2 separate regions of the Homo sapiens genome follow, and region 2 is linked to region 1. Evidence: promoter capture Hi-C in human tissues and cell types (Jung and others, 2019). All regions are on one chromosome and are shown on one strand. The core of a region is centred on a gene start or on the middle of the fragment in contact, and the rest is flanking DNA. Distances in the headings are between cores, read along the strand shown. Region 1 holds the start of RPS6KB2 (ribosomal protein S6 kinase B2). Region 2 holds the start of TMEM134 (transmembrane protein 134).

The links. The method cuts DNA at HindIII sites, captures the fragments that hold promoters and counts their contacts. A contact is called where the count stands out against the background at its distance.
Region 2: the fragment with the promoter of TMEM134 here is called in contact with the fragment with the promoter of RPS6KB2 in region 1 in 1 of the 25 tissues and cell types used here (spleen).

The regions. Positions count from the first base shown.
Region 1 is chr11:67,425,287-67,429,743 of GRCh38, reverse strand. RPS6KB2 (ribosomal protein S6 kinase B2) reads right to left here and starts at 1,250. Exons shown (of 15, transcript NM_003952.3): 1 at 1,121-1,250; 2 at 722-762; 3 at 504-624; 4 at 149-217. The coding sequence starts at 1,198. CARNS1 (carnosine synthase 1) reads right to left here. Exons shown (of 10, transcript NM_001166222.2): 10 at 4,140-4,457. RefSeq lists enhancers at 5-772, 1,207-1,456, 773-1,540, 1,557-1,706. The HindIII fragment of the contact is 10,585 bases long and covers 1-4,457 here.
Region 2 is chr11:67,468,001-67,474,859 of GRCh38, reverse strand. It overlaps TMEM134 (transmembrane protein 134), which reads left to right and starts at 5,609. Exons shown (of 7, transcript NM_025124.4): 1 at 5,609-5,841; 2 at 6,768-6,832. The coding sequence starts at 5,668. RefSeq lists enhancers at 5,205-5,384, 5,373-5,997 and silencers at 5,535-5,674, 5,885-6,024. The HindIII fragment of the contact is 18,331 bases long and covers 1-6,859 here.

The sequences.
Region 1 (4,457 bases), core at 1-2,500:
ACAATACACATCACAACAGACAATAAACCAGCAAACGCCAAAGTCAGGGATCCTCCTCCACTGTGTTCCCTGCTGTCTTCCCAAAGCCTGGTACAGCATGTTGGGAATGGCAGCCACACAGTATTCGTTGGCTGAACGAGTGACTCACCTTCCTTAGGACTTTCATGGCATATATTTTGCCCAAGTTGGTGCCTTGCACCTTTCGCACCTGGAACACCTGTAGGGCAGGGGAGACAGGATCAACTTCCCTCTCCACATCCTATCTTCAAGAAGCCCCACCCTGAAGCTCTGGCTTTGGGATCAGGAGGCCTAGGCCCTGCCAAGGGTGGGGCAGTGAAGATTTCAAGTCCGATTGGAGAGGATTTGGCCTTCCCTCCTTTATGTTTCTGGCTCTGAATCCCATTAGAGGCCCTGCTGATTCACAAGTCTAATTTGTTTTGAGAACCCTTTGCTGCCTCCAGATGGAGGCTGTGAGGCCAGGAGGAGGGTGCGCCCGCCCCTACCTTGCCATAGCCCCCCTTGCCCAGCACACGCAGCAGCTCAAAGCAGTGGGGCCCGATGCGCTCTGGGCCAACGTTCACGCTGGTCTCAGTCAGCTCCACCTCTTCATAGTGTCCCACAGGCCTACGGACACAAGGAGTTAATGAGGACAAGGCTCCAGTGCTCCCCAGTTCCCCTTCCCCACTCCATTCCCCCCTCCCCCAACACGACCCTCACTCACTCTAGGCCAGCTGCCCTCAACTCGGCAAGGGGACATGCGTCCTGTGAGAAACCGAGGGGTAAGAGCCAAGGAAGGTGCCAGGATACCTCCCCGCTCCCGTTCAGGTTGGACTGCGTGGCCCAGGAGAGAAGGGTGTCAGGGATGGCAGCTAGTAGGGGATGGGTAAGAATTGGGAAGAAACCGAAGGCAGGAAAGGGAGAATCGGGAGAAAAGGCTGGGGTTCTGGAAGAGAGGTCGGGGTGAGGGTGGGATCAGAACTTAATAGAGACCGGGATCTGAGAAGGATCTGGGTCTGCAAAGAGTCGGAGCCCGCTCTGGGCGTGCGGAGCCGCCGCTCCGGCCTCGGCTGGGTGACAGGATCGGCTCCAGGATCCAGTCGCGCCAGGGCAGGGCACTCACCGCGGGGCTGAGCTCTGGCTCGCCCTCGCCCTCGCTGCCTTCCTCCGTCTCCAAATCCAAATCAAACACGGCCGCCATGGCGGCGCCGGCCCCGCGGGCCCGTCGGCCCGTACCTGGCCGCGCACTGACTGACAGTCCCGGACCTAAACATCATCTCTCCGCGACGGCAGCTGCGCGCGCCGGTGACGCAAGGGATCTTACTCCCCCTCCGGAAAATCGCTTAGCCTGGTGGGGAACAAAGATGGCTTCCGTCGCAAGGCCTCTCGGGAATTGTAGTCCTAGAGTGGCGAGGCGCCTAGCCTTCAGCCTGCAGAATCCTTTCCGCAGGACCCTCGGTCTTCCCAGCAAGGCTTTCTGGGAGCCCGTTTTGGTTCTACGGTGTTTTGAGTTTGGATGGAGCAGGGTCGGAAGTGTATGCAGGTGTGAATGTAAATGCAATCCCCAGCCCTGTTGGAGACGGGTACTGCCAGGCCGGCTGCGTGATGAAAGGCAGGTCGCGTTGCTTTCGGTTCACTCCAGAAAGGGAGGCGGCTGCATCAGGGTCTCCTCAAAGTGCCTCTGGCTCGAGGACCCTGCAAATCGGAGCATTTACTGAGTGGCCAGCTCACTGCCAGGCTATGTTGCCAGGTTCCCGCCTTAAATAGGGTTTTGGGGGTCAGTGATAGACCTGTAAATATGGGATTTTGTTGGCGTTTACTCCCTTCTTAATTTAAGCACATTTAGGCACCTGGTACAGAATAGACACTTCAAAAAACGTTGTTGAGGCCGGACACGATGCCTCACGCCTGTAATCGTAGCACTTTGGGAAGCCAAGTTGGGAGGATCACTTGAGGCCAGGAGTTCAAGGTTACAGTGAGCTATGATGGTGCCACTGCACTCCAGGCTGGGTGACACAGTGAGATCCTGTCTCAAAAAAACAAACAGGCCGGAGGCGGTGGCTCACACCTGTAATCTCAACACTTTCGGAGGCCGAGGTGGGTGGATCACTTGAGGTCAGAAGTTGGAGACCAGCCTGGCCAACATGATGAAACTCTGCCTCTACTATAAATACAAAAAATTAGACGGGTGTGGTGGCGCGCACCTGTACTCCCAGATACTCGGGAGGTTGAGGCAGGAGAATCGCTTGAACTCGGGCGATAGAGGTTGCAGTGAGCCAAGATTGCACCACTGCGCTCCAGGCTGGGCGGCAGAGTGAGACCAAGTCTCAAACAGATAAAACCCGAAAACCTGGCTGGTCACGGTGGCTCACACCTGTAATCCCAGCACTTTGGGAGGCCGAGCCAGGCGGATCACCTGAGGTCGGGAGTTCAGGACCAGCCTGACCAACATGGAGAAACCCCGTCTCTACTAAAAACACAAAATTAGCTGGGCATGGTGGTGCATGCTTGTAATCCCAGCTACTCGGGAAGGCTGAGGCAGGCGAATCACTTGAACCTGGGAAGCGGAGGTTGCGGTGAGCCAAGATCATGCCATTGTACTCCAGCCTGGGCAACAAGAGCGAGACTCCATCTTAAAAAAAAAAAAAAAAAAAAAAAAAAAAAAAAAAAAAACTTTATGGTTTTTTTTTCTTTGTTTTGTTTAGTTTTTCAGACAGGATCTTACTCTGTCACCCAGGCTGGAGTACAGTGGCAAGATCGTGGCTCATTGCAGCCTTGACTTCTTGGGTTCCAGTGATTCTCCCACCTCAAATCCCAAGTAACTGGAATGACATAATCACATAATCTTTTTTCTTTTCTTTCTTTCTTTCTTTTTTTTTTTTTTTAGAGGGGAGGTCTTGTTTTGTTGCCCAGGAGGCTGGTCTTGAACTTCTGGACTCAAGTGATCCTCCTGCCTTGGCCTTCCAAAGTGCTGTGATTACAGGCATGAGCCACTACACCCAGCAAAAACCAAAAACGCTGTTGACAGAATGAACTTAGGCCAGGCAGGGTCGCTCATGCCTGCGATCCCAGCAATTTGGGAGGCCAAGGCGGGTGGATCACTTGAGGTCAGGAGTTCAAGACCAGCTTAACCAACATAGTGAAAACCTGTCTCTACTAAAAATACAAAAATTAGCCGGGAGTGGTGGTGCATGCCTATAGTCCCAGCTACTTGGGAGGCTGAGGTAGGAAAATCGCTTGAACCTGGGAGGCAGAGGTTGCAGTGAATCAAGATCACGCCATTGCACTACAGCCTGGGCAACAGAGTGAGACTCCGTCTCCAAAAAAAGAAAAAAAAAGAAAGAAGGAATGAACACACTCAACACAGCAAATCTTGTCTGTGACATGTGGTCTGTGACTTTAGATTGGGTATGGATTTGGCGGGGCGCGGTGGCTCACACCTGCAACCCTAGCACTTTGGGAGGTCGAGCCGGGTGGATCGCTTGAGGTCAGGAGTTCGACACCAGTCTGGCCAACATGGTGAAACCCCGTCTCTACTAAAAATACAAAAATTAGCTGGGTGTGGTGGTGGGTGCCTGTAATCCCAGCTACTTGAGAGGCTGAGGCAGAAGAATCACTTAAACCCGGGAGGCAGAGGTTTCAGTGAGCCGTGACTGTGCCATTGCACTCCAGCCTGGGCAGCAAGAGTGAAACTGTCTCAAAAAAAAAAAAAAAGATTGGGTATGGATTCTTATTGGATGGGGATGTGTGGGTGTGAATTTGGGTCAGACCAGGCCTTGGGTGTGAGTTCTGATTGTTGGAGGCTGTCTAGGTGTGCCTTCCATGTGCATAGGGGAGGTTGGGTATGAACTGAGGTGGACAGAATTCAGGGGTCTCCAGGCATGCAGAGGGTTATCTCGTTGAATGTGGCCCTCTGGTTGTAATTCCACCAAAGGAGATCCCCAGGTTCGGGTCTTGATGTGGGTGTAGGGCAGGCCCCTAGCAACCCAGGGCAACTCAGACACCAGGCCAGTGGGGTGGTTTTCCCTTAGCTCCAGATGCTACAAGTATCCCCTACCCGTCTCTTGATCCCCCTTCCCCACCCCCTATCTAGCTGATCCTGGGAGGAGTTGTCCAGTCAAGAGAACCTATCTAGACACTTCACCAGTACATAAGCCTTTATTTGGGGAGGGATGCCTGGGGAGCTGCCTCCAGCTCCTCTGCTGCACAGAGGCAGGATTTCTTAAAGCATCTTCCCTGAATGAGGAAGAGAGTGTAGACTCTCCTCTGCCAATGCTAGTTAGGTGTGCCAGAGGCCAAAGCACCAAAGCTCGGTGGAGAAGGTTTGTGATGCATAGGAGGGAGGTGTTCACGTGTCTCAGGGCCACTTGTGAATGAGGGCAGGGAGGTGAGGGGGGCCTAGAAGCTGAATGGGCATGTAAGACTTGATCAAAACAGAAACCTGGACCCTGCATCATGTC
Region 2 (6,859 bases), core at 4,360-6,859, 41 kb before region 1:
CTATAACCCCATAAGACCCAAGAACAGCAGAAGTAAGTGAGCAATAGGATTAATTTTGGCGGGAATCAGGGCAACAATAGGACTGGTGGCACCCTAGGGTGGCCTTGCTTACCACGAGTCAACCGTAAAGAACTTGACTCAAACCCTAGAATCCTTAGCCACCAACACGGGTCAGGCCTTAAAGGGAATTCAAGAATTTCTAGACTCTTTGGCAAACATAGTTCTCTGTAACAGATTAGCATTAGATTATTTACTAGCTGAACAAGGTGAAGTTTGTGCAGTTATTAATAAAACCTGCTGCACATGTCTTACCAGCTCCAAACAGACTGAGGCTAACATTCGAAAGATCTATGAACAAGCTACTTGGCTACATAGATAGAACCATAGCACCAACCCCAGCAATATCTGGTCAACTATCAAAAATGCCTTCCCGAGTCTCACCTGGTTTTTTACCTCTCCTAGGACCTTTGATAGCCATCTTGTTATTCCTAATTTTTGGCTGTGGTTGTTTAAACTCTTAGTAAGTCTTTGAGATTGCAACAGTTTCAGGTAAACACAATGCTGGCACAAGGCTTCCGACCCATTCATCTACTGACCTGGGTAATGAAAGTATCCTGTCTTTTGGACCCTTAGATCGGGTATCAGGAGATTTTTTTTTTTTTTTTTTTTTTTTTTTTGAGACAGAGTCTCGCTCTGTCACCCAGGCTGGAGTCCAGAGGCGAGATCTTGGCTCGTTGCAACCTCCACCTCCCGGGTTCAAGAGATTCTCTGCCTCAGCCTCCCAAGTAGCTGGGATTACAGGCGTCTGCCACCATGCCCAGCTAATTTTTGTATTTTTAGTAGAGACGGGGTTTCTTTTTTTTGTTCGTTTGTTTTTTGAGACGGAGTCTCGCTCTGTCGCCCAAGCTGGAGTGCAGTGGCGCGATTTCAGCTCACTGCAACCTCCACCTCCCGGGTTCACGCCGTTCTCCTGCCTCAGCCTCCCAAGTAGCTGGGACTACAGGGGCCTGCCACCACGCCCAGCTAATTTTTTGTATTTTTAGTAGAGATGGGGTTTCACTGTGTTAGCCAGGATGGTAGAGACAGGGTTTCACCATGTTGGCCTGGATGGTCTCGACCTCCTGACCTTGTGATCCACCCGCCTCAGCCTCCCACAGTTCTGGGATTACAGGCATGAGCCACTGCACCCGACCGGGTATCTGGAGATTTTTACCTCTCCAGTGCTAGGAAGGGGCTATGCCCATAAACTCAACAGGAAGCAGTTACAGAAGATGGATCTCTGCCCTTCCGCTGCCCTCTTAAGATTAAGAAGGAGTATCTAATCTCTGAGCGAGGAATGAGGTAGGTGGCAGGACTCAGCTCTGGAGGTGGGACACAGACACCAGACCAGATTGAGAACTAGCTAAAACAGGGAATGCTGCGCATGGTGGCTCATGCCTGTAATCCCAGCACTTTGGGAGGGTGAGGCAGGTGGATCACTTGAGGCCAGGAATTTGAGACCAGTTTGGCCAACATGGTAAAACACCATCTCTACTAAAAATACAAAACTTAGCTGGGTGTAGTGGCGGATGCCTGTAATCCCAGCTACTCCGGAGGCTGAGGCAGAGAATCGCTTGAACCCAGGAGGTGGAGGTTGCAGTGAGCCTAGATCGTGCCACTGCACTCCAGCCTGGACAACAGAGGGAGACTCCGTCTCAAAAAAATAAAACAGGGAAGAGGTGAAAGCACCTCTCCATAAGACCTAAGACCCGTAAGACCAGTGCATGTCAGTTTACCATTGCCATGGCAACACCTAGAAGTTACCACCCCCTTCGGTGGCAATGACCTGACGGCCCAGAAGTTACCACTCTTTCCCTAGAAATTTCTGGATAATTCACCCCTCAATTTGCATGTAATTAAAAGTGGGCATAAATATGGCTGCAGAACTGCCTCTGAGCAGCTGCTGGGGGCACACTGCCTGTGGGATGGCCCTGCTCCACAAGGAGCGACGCCTGTGCTGCTGCTGTGCGCTGCTGCTTCTGTAAAAGTTGCTTTCCAATAAGTAAAAAATAAGGCCAGGCACGGTGGCTCACGCCTGTAATCCCAGCACTTTGGGAGGCTGAAGTGGGCAGATCAACTGAGGTCAGAAGATGGAGACCAGCCTGGCCAAAATGGCGAAATCCTGTCTCTACTAAAAATACAAAAATTAGCTGGGCGTGGTGGCAGACGCCTGTAATCCAAGCCACTTGGGAGGCTGAGGCAGAAGAATCGCTTGAACCCAAGAGGCAGAGATTGCAGTGAGCCGAGATCACACCACTGCACTCCAGCCTGGGCGACAGAGCAAGGCTCAGTCTTAAAAAAATAAAAAATTTTAAAAAATGTTTAAGTTGCTGTCTAACACCACCAGCTCACCCTTGAATTCTTTCCCAGGTGAAGCCAAGCACTCTCTTGGGCTAAGCCCCAATTTTGGGGATCACCTGCCCTGCATCAGCCTTGCTACGCTGAGGCTGATCTTGAATTCCTGGCCTCAAGTGATCCTCCTGCCTCAGCTTCCCCAAAGTGCTGGGATTACAGACATGAGCCACTGCACCCAGCCTGAAAAGGAGTGATTATTCTTTGAGAGCATGTTAGACAAAGAGTCAAAGACAGACAGATAGGAAATATGTGCAAGGTCATAAACCAGCAAGGAATTAATGATTAGATATGTTGATATGCAAATTAGTGGAAAAAGGCTAGAAACCCAATAGCAAAAAGAAAGACCAAAGATATGAAAAGCCAGTTCACAGACAAGGGACACCCAATGGCTGACAAGGGCACAAAGAGCAGCTCAAACTCTCCAGCCATCAGAGAACCCAGAGGAACATGAGGTACCACTTTAAATTCATCAGATCGGCAAGCCATTAAAAAGTTGGATGGTACCAAGTCCTGAGAGAACCAGAAGCCTCAGGTGGAGTGTCAACTCTCACAGCCACTCAGGAGAGCATCTGTGGTACCCTGTGAAGTCATGAGTGCGTGTGCCCTATAACCTGGAAATCCTACCCCAAGGGGAATTCTCCCACAGTCCATAAGGGGACAGCAGGAAGATGTTAACTGCAGTGATGCCTGTGATGGCGGGGTTGAGGCCAGTTTGAGTGTACAACACTGTGGAGGTGAGGTGGATCATAAAGGTGCTAGACACTCAACATGGTACAACATGCATGTAGCCTGTAGAAACAATAAACAAATGCATATGGAAAACAGCATCGAGAGCAAAAATGTAAACGTGTAAGTAACAGAACTGAATTTTCTGCATGACATCATGTTTGTAAATTGCAAACACATCCACATAGGAGACAGTGCCATACATGGTACAGAGCCAGGCAGGCTTTAAGGACGCCGACTGAGCATGCTGACATGGGTCTGATGGAAGGCAGGGGAGAGGAAGGAACCTGGGAAGTGAAAGAGGGTAAGTGAATTAACATAACTCGAGAGGGGCCTTATTCATAGTGTTGATGTGTAACAAACAGAAGTAGACTTGACTCAGCTCTGTACATGAGGCCATAAAATGAACATGAGGCCGGGTGTGGTGGCTCATACCCAGCACCTTGGGAGGCCGAGGTGGGCAGATCACGCCTGTAATCCTAGCTACAGGGGAGGCTGAGGCAGGAGAATCGCTTGAACCCAGGGGGCGGAGGTTGCAGCAAGCCGAGATCTTGCCACTGCACTCCAGCCCGGGTGACGGTGCGAGACTCTGTCTCAAAAATAATAATAATAATAATAATAATAATAAGGCAGGGCACTGTGGCTCATGCCTGTAATCCCAGCCTCCTCGGGAGGCTGAGGCAGGAGAATCACTTGAACCCAGGAGGTGGAGGTTGCAGTGAGCTGAGATCGCACTCCAGCTTGGGCAACAGAGCGAGACCCTGTGTCGAAAAAAACAAAAACAAAAAAGAACTCTTGACTAAGGTCCATAAAGCTCTCAAGGCTCTGGGGCCCATCTACTCCTCCCAGGCTCATCAAGTCGGCCTGCCCCTTTCCTTGCTGCTCAGCCACACTGGTTTTCTCACATTCTTCCTCCACAGGCCAAGCTCCTTCCCACCTCCTGGCCTTTGAACGTGCTGTTCCCTGGTGCCAGGAAAACACTGAACCTTGCTTTTCTCACAGCTGGCTCCTTCATCATCGGCATTCCTGCTCAAATGTCACCTCTTGGAAAGGTCATCTTTGAGTACGAAATCTAAAGTCAGTTTTGCATCACACAGCACTTGAAACTGTCTCATTTTGCACTGTTTTATTCACCACTGTATCTATAGTGCCCAAAACAGTGTTTGGCCCTAAATAGATGCTTAATAAATACTTGTGGCAGAAATGAATGAGGGGTTTGCCAAAGTCCCAAGTACTTACAAGTGGTAGAATGGGGATTTGAAACCAGGTCCACCTAATTCATAGAGTACTTCTGCTCTTCCACCCCCACCGCCCCCCACCACGGTTCATTTTTTTTTTATGGAGTCTTGCTCTGTTGCCCAGGCTGGAGTGCAGTGGTGTGATCTCCACTCACTACAACCTCTGCCTCCAGGGTACAAGCGATTCTCCTGCCTCAGCCTCCCAAGTAGCTGGGATTACAGGCACTGGTCACCGTGCCCAGCTAATTTTTGTATTTTTAGTAGAGACTGGGTTTCACCATGTTGGCCAGGCTGGTCTCAAACTCCTGACCTCAAGTGATCCACTCTCCTTGGCCTCCCAAAGTGTGAGCCACCGTGCCCTGCCAAGAGTTCAGATTTTATTCTAAGTGCAATGGAAAACCAAGGGAAGGTTTTTTTGTTTGTTTTGTTTTGTTTTTTGAGACGGAGTCTTGCTCTGTCGCCCAGGCTGGAGTGCAGTGGCTCAATCTCGGCTCACTGCAACATCTGCCTCCCGGGTTCAAGCAATTCTTCTGCCTCAGCCTCCCAAGTAGCTGGGACTATAGGCATGCACTACCACGCCCGGCTAATTTTTGTATTTTTAGTAAAGACGGGGTTTCGCCTTTTGGCCAGGCTGGTCTTGAACTCCTGACCTCAAGTGATCCACCCGCCTCGGCCTCCCAAAGTGCTGGGATTACAGGAGTGAGCCACCGAGCCAGGCCAGCAGCAAAATTTTTAAAAAGGGTTTTCAGAATAACACACGCAGATAAAAAGATTTGTTTTAAAAGATCACTTCGGCTGCTGCGTGGAGACTGACTGGAAATTGGAAGACACATAAGCTCTCTGAGCCTCGGTTTCCACATTTGCAAAAATGGGGAGAGCACCCCTCCGGTGCGGGGCTGTTGTGAGTAAGGTGGGGAAACAGTTCCCAGGAGTCTCCTTGGCACTCGAGGAACAGGCTGCGGTGCAAAAGGCCCTGTCAGGGACCTGGAGGTTGGGGCGTGGAAGCCCCTCCAAGCCCCCGCACATACACGCCTGGGGGATGTGTCCGAGCCCGGCACGGGCTGTCGCTTGCCATGGCGGCCACTGAGTGGCGTCACGGGGCGGGCGCGCTCCGTCTGGAAGAGGCTCCCACCCATCAGCCCGCTCAGGGCTCGGCAACTCTGGCCTGCTTAGGGCGGACGGGGGCGGGACCGGCGCGTGGGGCGGAGCCAGGGTCGGAGGGGCGGGGCATGCGGGGGCGGGGCAGCGGCGACGCTGGGTGTGTGGGCGCAGATGGCGGCGGCGCACGGCGCCTGAGCGGGCCGGGGCCATGAGCGCCGCCCGGCCCCAGTTCAGCATTGATGATGCCTTCGAGCTGTCCCTGGAGGACGGGGGCCCTGGGCCCGAGTCCAGCGGGGTCGCGCGCTTTGGGCCGCTGCACTTCGAGCGTCGGGCCCGGTTCGAGGTGGCTGACGAGGACAAGCAGTCCCGGCTGCGCTACCAGGTGAACCGCCCGGCCCACCTAACCCCCTGCCCCCGGCCGGACGGGACCCCAGGCCGGGCCCCAAAGGCCTCAACTCGGGGAAGCATCTGCCTAGAGGCCCCAGCTGAAGCGCGAGACCGCCCCCCCGCCCCGCGGACGTGACTCTTGATCCAGAGCCCTGCCCAGGCCCTCCCGGTTCCCATACCGGGCCCCAGCCAGCCGGGAAGAGCCCAGTGCCCGGGCCCGGGAGCTCATCCCTCAGCTCCAGCTGGGGAACCCAACCGGATTCCCCACTCATCCTGGCTACTCGCACCTGGCCCCCGCTGGGTTGGGGGAGCTCCTCTGTATCTGAACCAGACCTTGCCCCACACGCAGGAGCATCCCCTGTGCCCCAGGCCAGCTAAGCTGATGGGAACCCGCACGCCTTTCTCTATTCTGAAAGCCCTCTCCCTAATCCCACCACCACCCCTAAGAGCTGGAGCTCCTCTCACATGACCAGTCCTTGCCCACCCTTTGGCTCCCACTAAACCAGAAAAACCCATTTTCCCAGAAAACCTCCACCAACCCTAGGCTGCTTTTCTTGGAGACCTGGACCAGAACCCTGTGCCTTGAACCTGGGAACTCTGGGCCTGGCCTTTCCTGGCACCCCAATTCCCAAGCTCCCATTCTAGGCCACTGAATGAGAGCTCCACCCTAACCCAAAGTTGGGAGCTCTCCTTTCCCTGGGATCTATGCAGGCTCCTGCTCCCCAAAGCCCTGGCATCCACCCACCTCCTACCTGGTTTCTGTGAATCACCAAACCCGTTCTGCGGGGAGGGCAGAGGGCCAGGTGAACAGCTGCCAGGCGGCCAGGCAAATGGTTGTGTAGGCCTGCTTTTCTCTTCCCGGGAGGGAGTGAGGAAGGGCCCCAGCCCAGCAACCCCCCTGAGACCTGTGTTCTGCAACAGAACCTGGAGAACGATGAGGATGGAGCCCAGGCCTCTCCGGAGCCGGATGGGGGAGTCGGCACCAGGTTAGGGCCAGGTGGGGACCCAACCCT